Regions from separate parts of the Homo sapiens genome. Here region 1 is linked to region 2. The links are contacts of gene promoters, found by promoter capture Hi-C in blood cells and fetal thymus (Javierre and others, 2016). All regions are on one chromosome and are shown on one strand. Each heading gives the region's core, a stretch centred on a gene start or on the middle of the fragment in contact. The rest is flanking DNA. Distances are from core to core; before and after follow the strand shown.

Region 1 (5,697 bases), core at 2,657-5,156, 60 kb before region 2:
TTAAAAACAGTGTTTACCAACTCGTAGTTGGTATACTGTCAGGATTTGGCCTAAGAAATTTCTGAATGCATTGTTTAGCTTAGTACTTCATTGCTGTAAGGAATTGATAGCTAACTGTAGGCTTTTTTCAAACTGTATAACAACCAAAAAGGAGCATTTGGGGGTATGTTGGATGGTGTTTTGTTTGTAAACACTTTGTTATATTGCACTACCACTTTAATGATGACACTTCCTTCATTGATGGCTTGGAAGTGTCATTTTTATAATTTATGAGTTGGGGGGATTCCCTAGTCAATGCATAGGAAATACATTCTTTGTACAAACGTGGTAAAGAGAGGACTGGCTTTGCTATGGCACCTAAGTTACTCATGGGTAGTTAAGTTTCATTTCTAGAGAAATGTCTTAGCTGCTGTGGTCCATTAGAGTTCCCTTTGGTACATTCCTACCTCAGTGTACCAAACCAGGGATTCCAAAAACCTTCCAAGGAGTGCTAGAAACACCGCAGTATCCCCTTCCAGAATGTTGGCGTTCATGATTCAAGAGGCCTCCCGTGGTCAGATGAAGACCTTTGGTTAAATGGGGGAAGAATGAGGTGGCGCTTTGACTGTATCAATTTAAAGATGCCGGAACCCCGTTAAAAACACCTGGTGGAAGGGAAAGGTGAGGCGGCCCTTTTCCACTGGCTGCTCACTGAGCACTGGAGTCCAGGAAGTCAGTGAGAAGAGAGCAGCTGAGTGTAGCAAAACCCGCCTTGGGTCAGCCAACACATGTCTGATGAGCACCCACTAGGAACTGTGCTTGCCATCCTGGGAGCTGAACAGTGAGGCAGAGGTCACACCACTCTCCTACTCAAGGTCATAAACCCACTATGGAACGGGCAAGGGCCCCGTCTTTGTCATCTGCCAGTCTCAGTGCTTGCACAGAGTAGGTAGGCAATAAACATTTGACAAATAAATATAAGATTCTTGTGATCAAAGTAATGTTCTTCTGTTGAAAAGGGCACTCCAAGAGTGACTGATTTTACTGGGTTTTCAGTGAGAAACTTTGTACCCATATGGGCTGGCCTCCTATACGGAGCTGAAACTAGCATGGGCCGGCCTCCTATATGGAGCTGAAACTAGTATAGCATAAACAATGCCAAGTGCCTGATGTACATGATGTACAGTCTTCTGATTGTACCCTCTATATGGGACTATGAGACCCTCTATAGACTCAGCACAGCTTATAATGTTGATCATGTTTAGTATTGGGCTTTATTGACTGCTTTTTATATGGGTGTCAAAATCTTTCCAGGACATACCCCTTTGATCCTCACACCTCTGGAATAGGCAGGGCACTCTCCCCATTGTACCAGGGTAATCTTGGAGGCCTGATAGATATGGCTTCATTTCTCACTTTAGGGAGGAGCAAGAACCAAAAGCAGAAGCCAGGTCTTTGGATTATCAGCTCACCAGTCAGCCAGTGAGGCTGGAACTTGATTTTTCTAGGCATACAAGTATTTTTAGTAATAGAATAATCATTTTTAGTATTAATACAATTTACGCTCCCAAACATGTCCTTTGCTAGTTGCACAGGCATAAGCTGAAAGATCTTTGATTTTCTTTGTTAGTTAGCTATAGGAAGGTTAAGAATTTATTTACTAAGGTCGTAAGAACAGAAGAAAGTTTCTTTGAAAGAGAAACTGTTTTTTTATTTCAAAGAGCTTCATGTATACTTCCCTCTCTTATTCCATGTAATTAGTAAGGGAAAATAAACTATGTCTTAGAATGTTGAGGAAAGTATTTTGATAGCTTTTAATAATTCTTGAAATACTCTTTACTCTGTCTGTAGTTTTGAGAAATTACAGAAATTCATAGTATAAGGATGAGAAGGGGCCCATTTGCCCATATTTGATAACACAGACTTGGATTGAGTGTCTGTCATGCCTGCTGGCAGTTAAGTCTCAGTGGTATTGACTGCTAGGCATTTTCTATATTTTTTGCAAGTTAGCTGGTAAAACTTGGTAAAGTTTTGTGTTTTTCAGAAGGAACCCTATTATTATTTCCATTTTAAACATATTTCAATATTGTCTCATTGTAATAGTTCCATTTATGTGACATCTGAGGAATTAAATCATACTTCCAGATGGTTTGGTCTAATGTATACAGTTTAGGAAAGTTTATTCTTTTTTATTTTATTTTATTTTTTTAAATTTCTTTTAGAAACTGGGTTTTGCTCTGTTGCCCAGGCTGATCTTAAACTCCTGGCCTCAGATGTGGAGACCCAGCTGGGACTACAGGCATGAGCCACCACGCTCCGTAGAAAGTTTGTTCTTTTTCAGTTCTGTCATTGAAATTCTCTAAGTGATTGGATTTTTAAACCCCTTCCCCTTTTCATGAAATTAAACATCAAATAAATAAAACTACATTATATAATTATTTAGTCAGAAATGACTGTTGCCCTCTCTTTTTTTTTTTTTTTTTTTTTTTTTTTTGAGACGGAGTCTCGCTCTGTCGCCTAGGCTGGAGTGCAGTGGTGCGATCTCGGCTCACTGCAATCTCCGCCTCCTGGGTTCAAGCAATCATCCTGCCTCAGCCTCCCCAGTACCTGGGATTACAGGTGCTTATTACCACACTCGGCGAATTTTTTGTGTTTTTAGTAGAGACGGGGTTTCACCATGTTAGCCAGCATGGTCTCGATCTCCTAAACTTCGTGATCCGCCCGCCTCAGCCTCCCAAAGTGCTGGATTACAGGTGTGAGCCACCTCGCCTGCCCTCTTTTTTTTTTTTTATTTTGAGATTAAAACTAATTCTTTTAAAGTCACTACTCAGCTGAAATTTGGCCTGATTATAAATGTTGATAATAATTTCTTCCTGGCTCAACAAAGTTGTTGAGCTTCCTTCTGTGCACACATTGAAAGAAAACCAGAAATTGTACAGTCGTGATATGAATTAGAGAAGGAACAGGTGGAAAAGGATGGCAACACACAGAGTCCGGGGGACACACGGCCTTAAGATGAAGTGAACGAGTAGACACTGAATAGGATCCACGTAAATGAACGGCCATTTCAAATCATTCACATCCCAAACGGAGGTTCATCTGTCTTCTGGTTGGTGAATTATATTTATTAGGATCTTATTTTTAGCATTTCATTACAAGTAATAGGTTTGGGTACCTTATTTTTATTGTTTTTACTCATCAGTTATGAATAAGGCATACCTTAGAAACTTGGGTTAAATTTTTTCAAGTTATACCAGTCAACTTGGTTTAAATACAACTGTACTAACTTGCTTTATCATGTTTCCTGTTTAATTGGATGAGAATTACATGCACTTATTCAGTTGTTCTTTGTGTTTATAGGAAAAACTCTGTTCTCAGCTACCTCATTATGTAGTATTGTGCTTGATCCCCTGCCAATTGAGAAGAATTCAACACATTCTGTTCTTTAACAAAAGCTTGGAAGCAGGCAGTCAGAGGCCTTGAGGAATACAATTCTCTAAGGCCTGTTTTCCATTTTACTACTTAAAAAAAAAAAAAAAAGAAAAGAAAAAAAAGCACTTACAACCAGGAGGAATAATAATTCTCCTAGAGTTGCTGCAAACTGATTACTTGAAACTCAACTTGAACTTTAAAGAGTCTTTAAAAGGCTGTTTTCATAATGCAGAAAAGTAGTCTATTTAAACGCCACTGCTGTGTAAAACAGGGGGCTCGATTTCCATTCTTGTTAGCATCAGACAAGAAAATGTGTCTATCTGTCATCTGACCCAGTATTTGGGATTTGGGTGCTTGAGGATACTATTTTTTTCATTTCTTATAAGGTGCTATTGTTTCCCAGAAATCTTTAATTTTGATGAAAATCTACTCATTGCTAAGATCCTCCTCACTTAAAGTGTTTCCTCAGTGCAGAGTTGAGGTTGGCAGAACTATATAGAGTTGGATGATACTGAAAATCATGAATGATGTGATTTGTTCCATGTATCTGTGGAACATCCCTCACCTTCCTCCGGTATGCGCCTTCTGCACTCCACACGTGGTCGCCTCCATCCTCCCTAGTGTCTGTCAGCTTGCCTGGTCACCAAGTCAGGAGGAAGAAGATGAGGAGGCTCACCAGTTGTAGGCAAGACTCTTCCTCTCGGGAGATCTTGTAATAATGGCCCAGTTTCAGGGCACAGTTGTACACATTCTACTTAAATGGAGGAGTTCAGTGATGCCGTGGCCAAAAGAGTTATGCCCATTTCTAAAAGCCTGGCATATTTGGTATAACTTAAGCACCAGGTAAAATCTGGTGCTTAAGTTGTACCAAGTATAGCCAAGTTTAACTGTCGTTGTGTATTAATAAGATTTAATTTTTATGCTTGTGCTTTTCAGAGTAAAGGGCTTGCTTTCAATAGTAGAATGACAAAGCTTCTCCTCCAATGACAATCTGTTAGCACCCTGTTGACTTAGCTCAGGACATGAGACTGACTTAGCTCAGGACATGAGACATTTCCTGGAAGTGATTTCCATGAGAACAAAGGCTTATTCCTTTAACTTAAACCCCAAACTTTGTTATTTTAATTATTTTCAGGCAATCATCTTTATATACTTTCCTTACAAACCCAGTGGTTGAGAGCATAGGCCTTGGTGGCAGGTGCATCTGGGCTTGGGGGCTTCTGCCACACTTACTACTCTGTGACTTGGGAAGCTCTTAAGGCTCCCAAGGCTCCGTTTCTTATGTGGAAGAAGAATAGCAGGAGGACTCACCTCTGCGGGTTGTTGTGAGGATTAACTGGGTGATGACTGTAAGCAGCTGGGAGAGTGCCTTGTGTGCAGTGACCACTGTTGCTGCCACCATGATTATGTCACCTCTCAACATGGGGTGGTGGGAGGCCCTGTGGATGAGGCCAAGGCTGCCTGCACTGAGTGTCCCAGGCCTTATAGCTTTCCACATTCTCACGTCTGCTGCCACATGATATACAAGTAAATGTATTAGAAGTTGGTGTTCATAAAATACTTTTTTTTTTTTTTTTTTTTGAGATGGAGTCTCGCTCCGTCACCCAGGCTGGAGTGCAGTGGCGCCATCTCCCAGGCTCAAGGGATCCTCCTGCCTCGGCCTGCCAAGTAGCTGGGACTACAAGTGCACACCAGTATGCCCAGCTAATTTTTTGTATTTTTAGAACAGGTGTGGTTTCACCATATTGCCCAGGCTGGTCTCGAGCTCCTGAGCTCAGGCAATCCGCCTGCCTCAACCTCCCAAAGTGCTGGGATTACAGGTGTGAGCATCCAGCCAGAAAATGATTTGCTTTCTAGACCCATATCACCTCTCTCCATCTACATCTCTAGTATTTAAATTCAACACAATTCTAGATAGCTGAAACAGCCCAAAATATGTGTTTAGAATACTTAGAGTTTGTTATAAATAACCCTCTGTTTAGAATTTGCCCAGTGAAATTCTCTAATAATACTTAAAACTCTTTACTAAAGTTGAATTTTCCTTTTTTTTCATTGAAATAGCAAAGGTAGTAATCTGTATTGGTCAAAGAAACGAGATAATTCCTAGATCTCTGTTTTAGACCAGTAGACCTAACTGTGCTTTCTTAACTTGGATGTTACATGAAACTTAAAAACAAACAAATATGTGTTACAAGTACTTGTGTGTACGTGCATGTGTGTTTGTGCATGTGTCTGTGTGTGTGGAACTTTTGTACCTTTGCATAAAGAAGGTTATTTAACAAAGTG
Region 2 (6,364 bases), core at 3,577-6,076:
GGCTTTGCAGTCCATGGCTGAATCTGGCCCCTTGCTGGTGTATTGTATCTGTGTGGTGGAAACTCTGCCGTGGGGTGCATGTCTTCCTAACTCCATGTCCAAGGACACATGTTGGTAGCTTGTATAATAATTGGCCATGGTGGTTGTATTTGCACCAGGGAAATTGTCAAACTTTATAGATCAGGCTTTCCTTTTTTCAGCAGGCTGACTATTGAACACGACCCTGGATACAGTGGTGAGCAAAACCAGAATGAACCCTGCCCGCTTGGAGGGTACAGTGCAGTGCATTGGGGTTTGTGCACCATTTCATGGTGGGGTGGGGCAAGGAGAGAGAGCTGTGCAGAGGCTGGAGTGGATCTCCACTGGAGACTGCTGGTTGTTAAACAGCCAGTTAAAAAAAAGATTAAGTTATGTAAAGTTACAATTAAATGAATAATATTTTTTAAAAGGTAATACAACTCATCGTTTCCTAATTATTTTAGTACATTTTGCCGGTATCTCTCTTCTTGAAGTTATTTATGTCTATTGTAAGGGTTGCCAAACTTTTTCTGAAAAGGGGCCAGAGAGTGAATATTTTAGGCTTTGGAGTCCATGGGCTGAATCTGGCCCCTTGACTATAGTTGCTGACCCCCCATGACAATAGTTGCTGAGCTCCCATGAGGGCAGCATTTTGTGTGCTATGGATCTGTAGTACCCAACACCGTCCCCGGCCCTCAAATAGGTGCTAATAAACAGATGTTTAATGGAATCAAATAAAAGAAAATGAATGAAGCAGTGTCACGTAGCTCAGGGGTGAGGACATTGACATCGCAGCGAGATCCAGCCATTCAACCGAAAATCACTATGCATTTACTTTGCCCGCTTCATTCATTCTTTCTTTTATTTAATTCCGTTAAACACCTGTTTATTAGCACCTATTTGAGGGCTGGGGACGGTGCTGGGTGCTACAGATCCATAGCACATAAAATGCTGCCCTCATGGGAGCAGGGGGAACATCCACTTACAGGTGTGGCTGCTGGAAGGCGCCTCAGCTCAACCTCTCCTAGGCTGCCCCTCAGCTCCACTGCTCTCCTCCCCAACAGGTACTTTGCCACCTCATCAAATTCCTTAATGGCAGCCTGGGTAGCGGGTGTGTCTTTCCCTTCTGAGTTAGCTACAGGGGACACCTCAGAGAACTCGAGTTGAGACTGTGCCCATGAAGGCACTTTACTGTTCAGTTTGGCATCCCAGCTCCTAGCATTGAGTTGATCGAGTGGGTCCTCCACCAGTGTGGCCCGGGGTGACCCCACAGTGGGCTGTTGAACGAAAGCGGTAGTTCAGGTGAGGGCACACGTCATCCTTTGGAACCTGGCTCAAACAAGGAGACACCGCCAGCAAAGAATGCAGAAAATGACAGGTTTGTCTGGTGAACTGGCCTCTGGTTAGTGAACGAGCCTGCGAGAGCCCAAGGGGAGTGAAGGGTGCGTGAACCGCCGTGCCCTTCCTGCTACTCCGTAAGCTTCTCAAGTTCAGTGTTGGAAGGGGAGGCTCTTAGGGGCTCGGACCATTCTTTGGAGGGTCTGGAGTTCCAGGGCATTGAGCACAACTCGGGGACATGGTCCATCCACGGGAGCTCGACGGGCTCATGTTTCCTATAATTTGGGGAGCTCCAGGGATGGGGCTCTGATGGAATCTGATGGCTGGATTCAGATTCCTTTCTAGGTTGGGAGCCTGGGATAGTGGAAGGTGGAGGGGCTCTGCAATGAGTTAGCCAAATCCCAGTCTAGGAGGCTGTGGACTCAACTGTCACACTGTCACAGACTGAGTACTAACGCCATCCCAGCTCATCCCCCGCAACTTACTGACCCAGTCCTGTGGCTGGACCTTTGCTAAGCACCAAGGAGTATGTTTTTGACAATCAATCCCTGTGTATTTGCTGCACCCCAGCTTTGTCCAGGCACTGAGCTAGTGCTGTTGCCAGACAGGCGCTTCTGGCTTCTGCCCTCAGGAACTTTCTTTGCCGTGTCTTGGGGGCTCCATTTCACTGATTTGAAACTATATTCAAGAAATACTGCTATTTAAAGAGGACACTGATTGAATTCAATACTTTCTTCCTGAATGCCTGCTCAGGACAACATTACAAAGACAGACATTTGTAATGTCCTCCTAAATTCCCAGAGGAGTGGGAAGCACATGGAATTTGAGGTCGAACAGAATCTGAGGTTCAAACCTCGGCTGGATCCTGATAGTTGTCTGACCCTGTCTGAGCCTCAACTTCCTCACTTAAGATGGGGATGGTAATAGTTCCTACCTCCTAGGCTGGTGGGGAGGAATAAACGAGAACAAATACATAAGGCCTCCAGCATGGTATCTGGTGCTTGGGTACCGGTCATTATTATCACGGTATGTCCTACTTAATGTTTACAAATCAACCACTGTACTGGGCTGCATGGAGGATGTCTGGAATGGTCCTGGAATATATCAGGGATTTGCATCCTGCTAAATCTCCTCCTTCTACTGGAGTTTTGTGCCCTGTATGGGTAGGGGCGTGTCCACAGATGTCCCCGAAGTGGACAGCAGCTGCTTTGCTTGCCACTGGGCCACTCCACCCAGTGACTTTGTGCTAGCCCTTGTTGCTTCCTTCTGTGGGGGGTAGGTGAGCATGAAAGTCTCCTCACTGGCCTCCTTGCCTCTAGGTTTCTCCTCTGCAATGCTCATCTGTGCCACACTGCAGCCTTTTGAAGAAGCCATGTACAAGTCACTCCTTTGCATGGCCCATGTGGTGTCTCCCCACTGCTCTAGTCCCTGGGTTTGCATTTCAGGGTGCTGCTTGCTCACCGCCTACATCTCTGCTCCACCTCCTCCAGGGACCTTGCACCCCATGGCAAGTGAGTTCAGTTTCCTGAACAAGCTGAGCATCCTCCCATCTCTTTGCCTTGGTAGGAGCCAGTTCGTCTTCTTGGAGCACCTATCCCCTTCTTTACTTGATTCCTAAAGAACTCTTAGAGTACCCTGGTCCCCCACACTGGGTTAGACATCCCCCTTTCTGTTCCTGGAGCACCAAGCACAATGTCTGTTACTGTTCTGGACTCTGACCTCCATGCTTTGTGGTTGAGGATGAGGACAGCACCTATGTCATAGGGTGTGAGAAGAGAATGATGTGTGCGTACAAAATTCTTAGCACATAGGAAGCCTCTGGCCACTGTGGTTATTATAGTCATTACCATTAATACCCTAGTGCCTGGCCTGTGACCAGCATACAGCAGGAGCTCAATGAAAATATTTGAACAAAGGATCTAATCCCACCCGCTTAATGGACTGGGGGGTTTCTTGGCCCCAACCACCCCCCAACACCCACATATCTAGGGCTTGCCCCTTCATGCTTGGTGGTTTTCTCAAGGCTGTTCAAGCTCAAAACTGGAAGGAAATGGCAGCAAATTGTGGGGAGCTAAGGAATTTCTAACTTTCTAATCTAATTGTGCCTCCCCAAGGAGGCATCTCCTGGGCAGGCTGGATGTGAGTCTTCTTTCCTTGGTGAGGGATGCAGCCTGGGACCTGCCTTTCATCCCCTGCCTGAAACCCTGGCCAGGCTCGGGGAGAGGGTCCTCTGGGGAGCACCTTCATGCTGCCTGTTCTTGGGAGAGGGGGGGTGAATAATTTCCACCAACGGCACAGATGCTGTGGATATTCCGCAGTGTTCACGACGCAGTTCAACACACGCTGCACACATTCATGTGTTCACTACAGAGGCGCCTTCACTTAAAAAGGCAAAAATCTAGGGTTTTAACGTTATTAGCTGCAGGAGCACGTGGAGATAAGAAAACCTGGCTGAGGAGCTGAGCATTTGCTAGGTGGCCTTAGGTGCCGGCTGCTTGTGATGGCAGAAAGGGAGCTTTTTGCATCCAGGCTGCAGTTCCTGATACCCTGGGTCACAAGAGAATCGAATATGGTTCTCTCGTGGGCTGGTGCTGGGCCTGTGAACTCAGATAAAATGACCAGGTGGGGTCCCAGGGAAGGTGAAGTAGGGGGAGCTGCTGGGGTGCGCACAAGAGGGGTGGCTGTGTAGGTTGGGGGGTGCTTTAAGTGGGTTCCTAGAAGAGGCTCTGTCTCCCTGGGCAGAAGAAAGAAGGGGGATGGGCGGACCGTCCCCTCTCTCCAGAAGGTTTGAGGACCCCCAAGGCCAAAGCCAGCAGACGTCAAAGGCCAGGAGTTCGAGGCCGGCTGGGTCCCGCAGTGGGAGACAGGGCAGGGTGGGCTCATCCTCCGGATCACCGCGGGGACACTTTCAGTCGGGAAGGCGTCCCCGTCCCACGGCCCCATCTGGCCAGCCCGCTGGACAGCCTGGACAGCGGAGGGGGCGTCAGGGGTCGAGGGTTCCAGTCCCCGTCCTTCCACCCAGCCCCCGGCCCTCGGGTATCCTTCTTTACCCGTCCGAGTCCGGCCCGGGGGCGGCGGGGGTGGGTGAGGCGCGGGCCCCCAGGCTCCGGCAGCCTGGCTGGGCTCCCGCCCGGGCACCCGCGGGGGCGCGGCTGGCGTGACGTCACGCGCCCCGCCCCCGCGCCCCGCCCCCTCCCCACATTCCAGGCGGGGCGGGCCGGGACCCCGCGGGGCTCGCCCGCCCCAGCCCCCTCCCCAGGGGCTGCCCCTCCCGTCGGGCCGCGCCTCCCCGTCGTGGGCCGCGACCCCGCCCGGACCGCGGACTCCGCCCGCGAGAGGCCGAAGCCGCCGCGGCCGCCGCCGTTGCCGCCATTGACGTCAGAGGGGCGGGCACATGACCCTGCGGGGACCAATCGCGCGGGCGCCCCGGGCTCCGGGAGCCCGGCGCGCGGCCCGCCCCGCCCGCGGCCACTCTCGCCCGGACGGCCGCGCGGACACACGCTCTGTACACACGCGCGCGGCGGCGCGGGGCCCCGAGACACGCCCGCCCCCACCCCGCCGCCCCCACCCCGGCGCCCGCCCTCCGCGCCTGGCCCCGGCCCGCCCTCGGCCTCCCCCGCCCCTCCCCGTCGCCCGCCGAGCCCGGTCAGCCGCCGCGAGCATGCACCCGACGAGCTAGGAGGAAGCCCGGAGCCCCGCAGGAAGCGCCGAGGCCGGCCCAGCCCGCCGCACGCGCCGCCCCCCGCGGGCAGCGCCCCCTCCCCTGCGGGCGCCCCCAGCCCCACACCCCCCCACCTTCCCGGGGGGTGGGGGGGTGCGGGCCGCCGGATCCGGGGGCCCCGCCGCCCCAGCAGCCCAGGACAGCCCCCTCTCCCCGCCCCCAGCCCCCTCCCCCGGCGCGGCCATGGATGTGACCAGCAGCTCGGGCGGCGGCGGCGACCCCCGGCAGATCGAGGAGACCAAGCCGCTGCTGGGGGGCGACGTGTCGGCCCCCGAAGGCACGAAGATGGGCGCCGTGCCCTGCCGCCGGGCTCTTCTGCTTTGCAACGGGATGAGGTACAAACTGCTGCAGGAGGGCGACATTCAGGTCTGTGTCATCCGGCACCCGCGGACCTTTCTCAGCAAGATCCTCACCTCGAAATTCCTGAGGCGCTGGGAGCCGCACCACCTAACGCTGGCCGACAACAGCCTGGCGTCCGCCACGGTGAGTGGCTCTGCGCGGCTGCACCCCCGCCTCTCCTCGGGGCCCGAGATGCGCCCTCCCTGGCTGCCCCCTGGCGCTGCACCTGGAGCCCAGGGCCTGGGGGGCGGTGGGGGGTGCCGGGGGAACGGGGAGAACCAGGGCGCCTCGCTCCTGGCCTGCTCGCGGGGCTCGATTTTGGAGTCTGAAGCCCAAACCAGCCGACCGGGCTCAGGAGAGACCCTTAAAATGCTGGAGACTCGGCCCACCGCCAGGCTGGGTGCCTGGGGACCTTCTGCCCCCAGCTCTTGTGTTTCTGGTGGCTGGGACTCGAGGATGGACCCGACGCTGGGCCCTGATGGTGGTGGGGGTTCTCTCTGGAAGCCCCTGGCCCATCTGGATCTGAGGGGTGGGGGAGGGGAAAACAAAATACCACCCCTCAGATTTAAAAAAAAAAACAAACAACACAACAAAACCTCCAAACCCCCAAACCCAAAGAATTTCCAGAAGCCAGTTTCTCTGTTTGGTTTACCCGTCCTTTATTCTCTTTCCTGCCAGGGCTGGCAGGCAGAACGGGGTGCTTCCCTTTCTGAAAATCTCATTCGCACATTGAGAGGTTGGAAGTGGAGGGGGAGGGGGCAGTGGTCCTGGAATATCTCAGGACCCAGCGGTGGTCGAGTTCTAGCCTAGAAGCTGCTTGGTGGAGCCCTGGTCCGGCATTGTCTGTAGAGTGTGTGTATACGTGTGTGTTTTGTTGCTGGAGGTTTAATTTTGTTATTGTTTTTAAATACATGGGTAGGACTGGGTCAGCTGGATGAGTCGGAGAGG

What was found. Contacts are between HindIII fragments. The CHiCAGO score rates a contact against its expected background, and 5 or more counts as called.
Region 1: a fragment that was not itself captured here is called in contact with the fragment with the promoter of CMIP in region 2 in 1 of 17 cell types (total B cells); the score reaches 5.1 in total B cells.

Annotation. Positions count from the first base shown.
Region 1 is chr16:81,380,798-81,386,494 of GRCh38, forward strand. GAN (gigaxonin) reads left to right here. Exons shown (of 11, transcript NM_022041.4): 11 at 1-5,697. It overlaps MIR4720 (microRNA 4720), which reads left to right and starts at 4,221; the gene lies at 4,221-4,296. The HindIII fragment of the contact is 949 bases long and covers 3,433-4,381 here.
Region 2 is chr16:81,439,982-81,446,345 of GRCh38, forward strand. CMIP (c-Maf inducing protein) reads left to right here and starts at 4,827. Exons shown (of 21, transcript NM_198390.3): 1 at 4,827-5,560. The coding sequence starts at 5,261. RefSeq lists an enhancer at 3,668-4,200 and silencers at 4,410-4,509, 4,620-4,969, 5,040-5,089, 5,520-5,819. The HindIII fragment of the contact is 9,361 bases long and covers 1,497-6,364 here.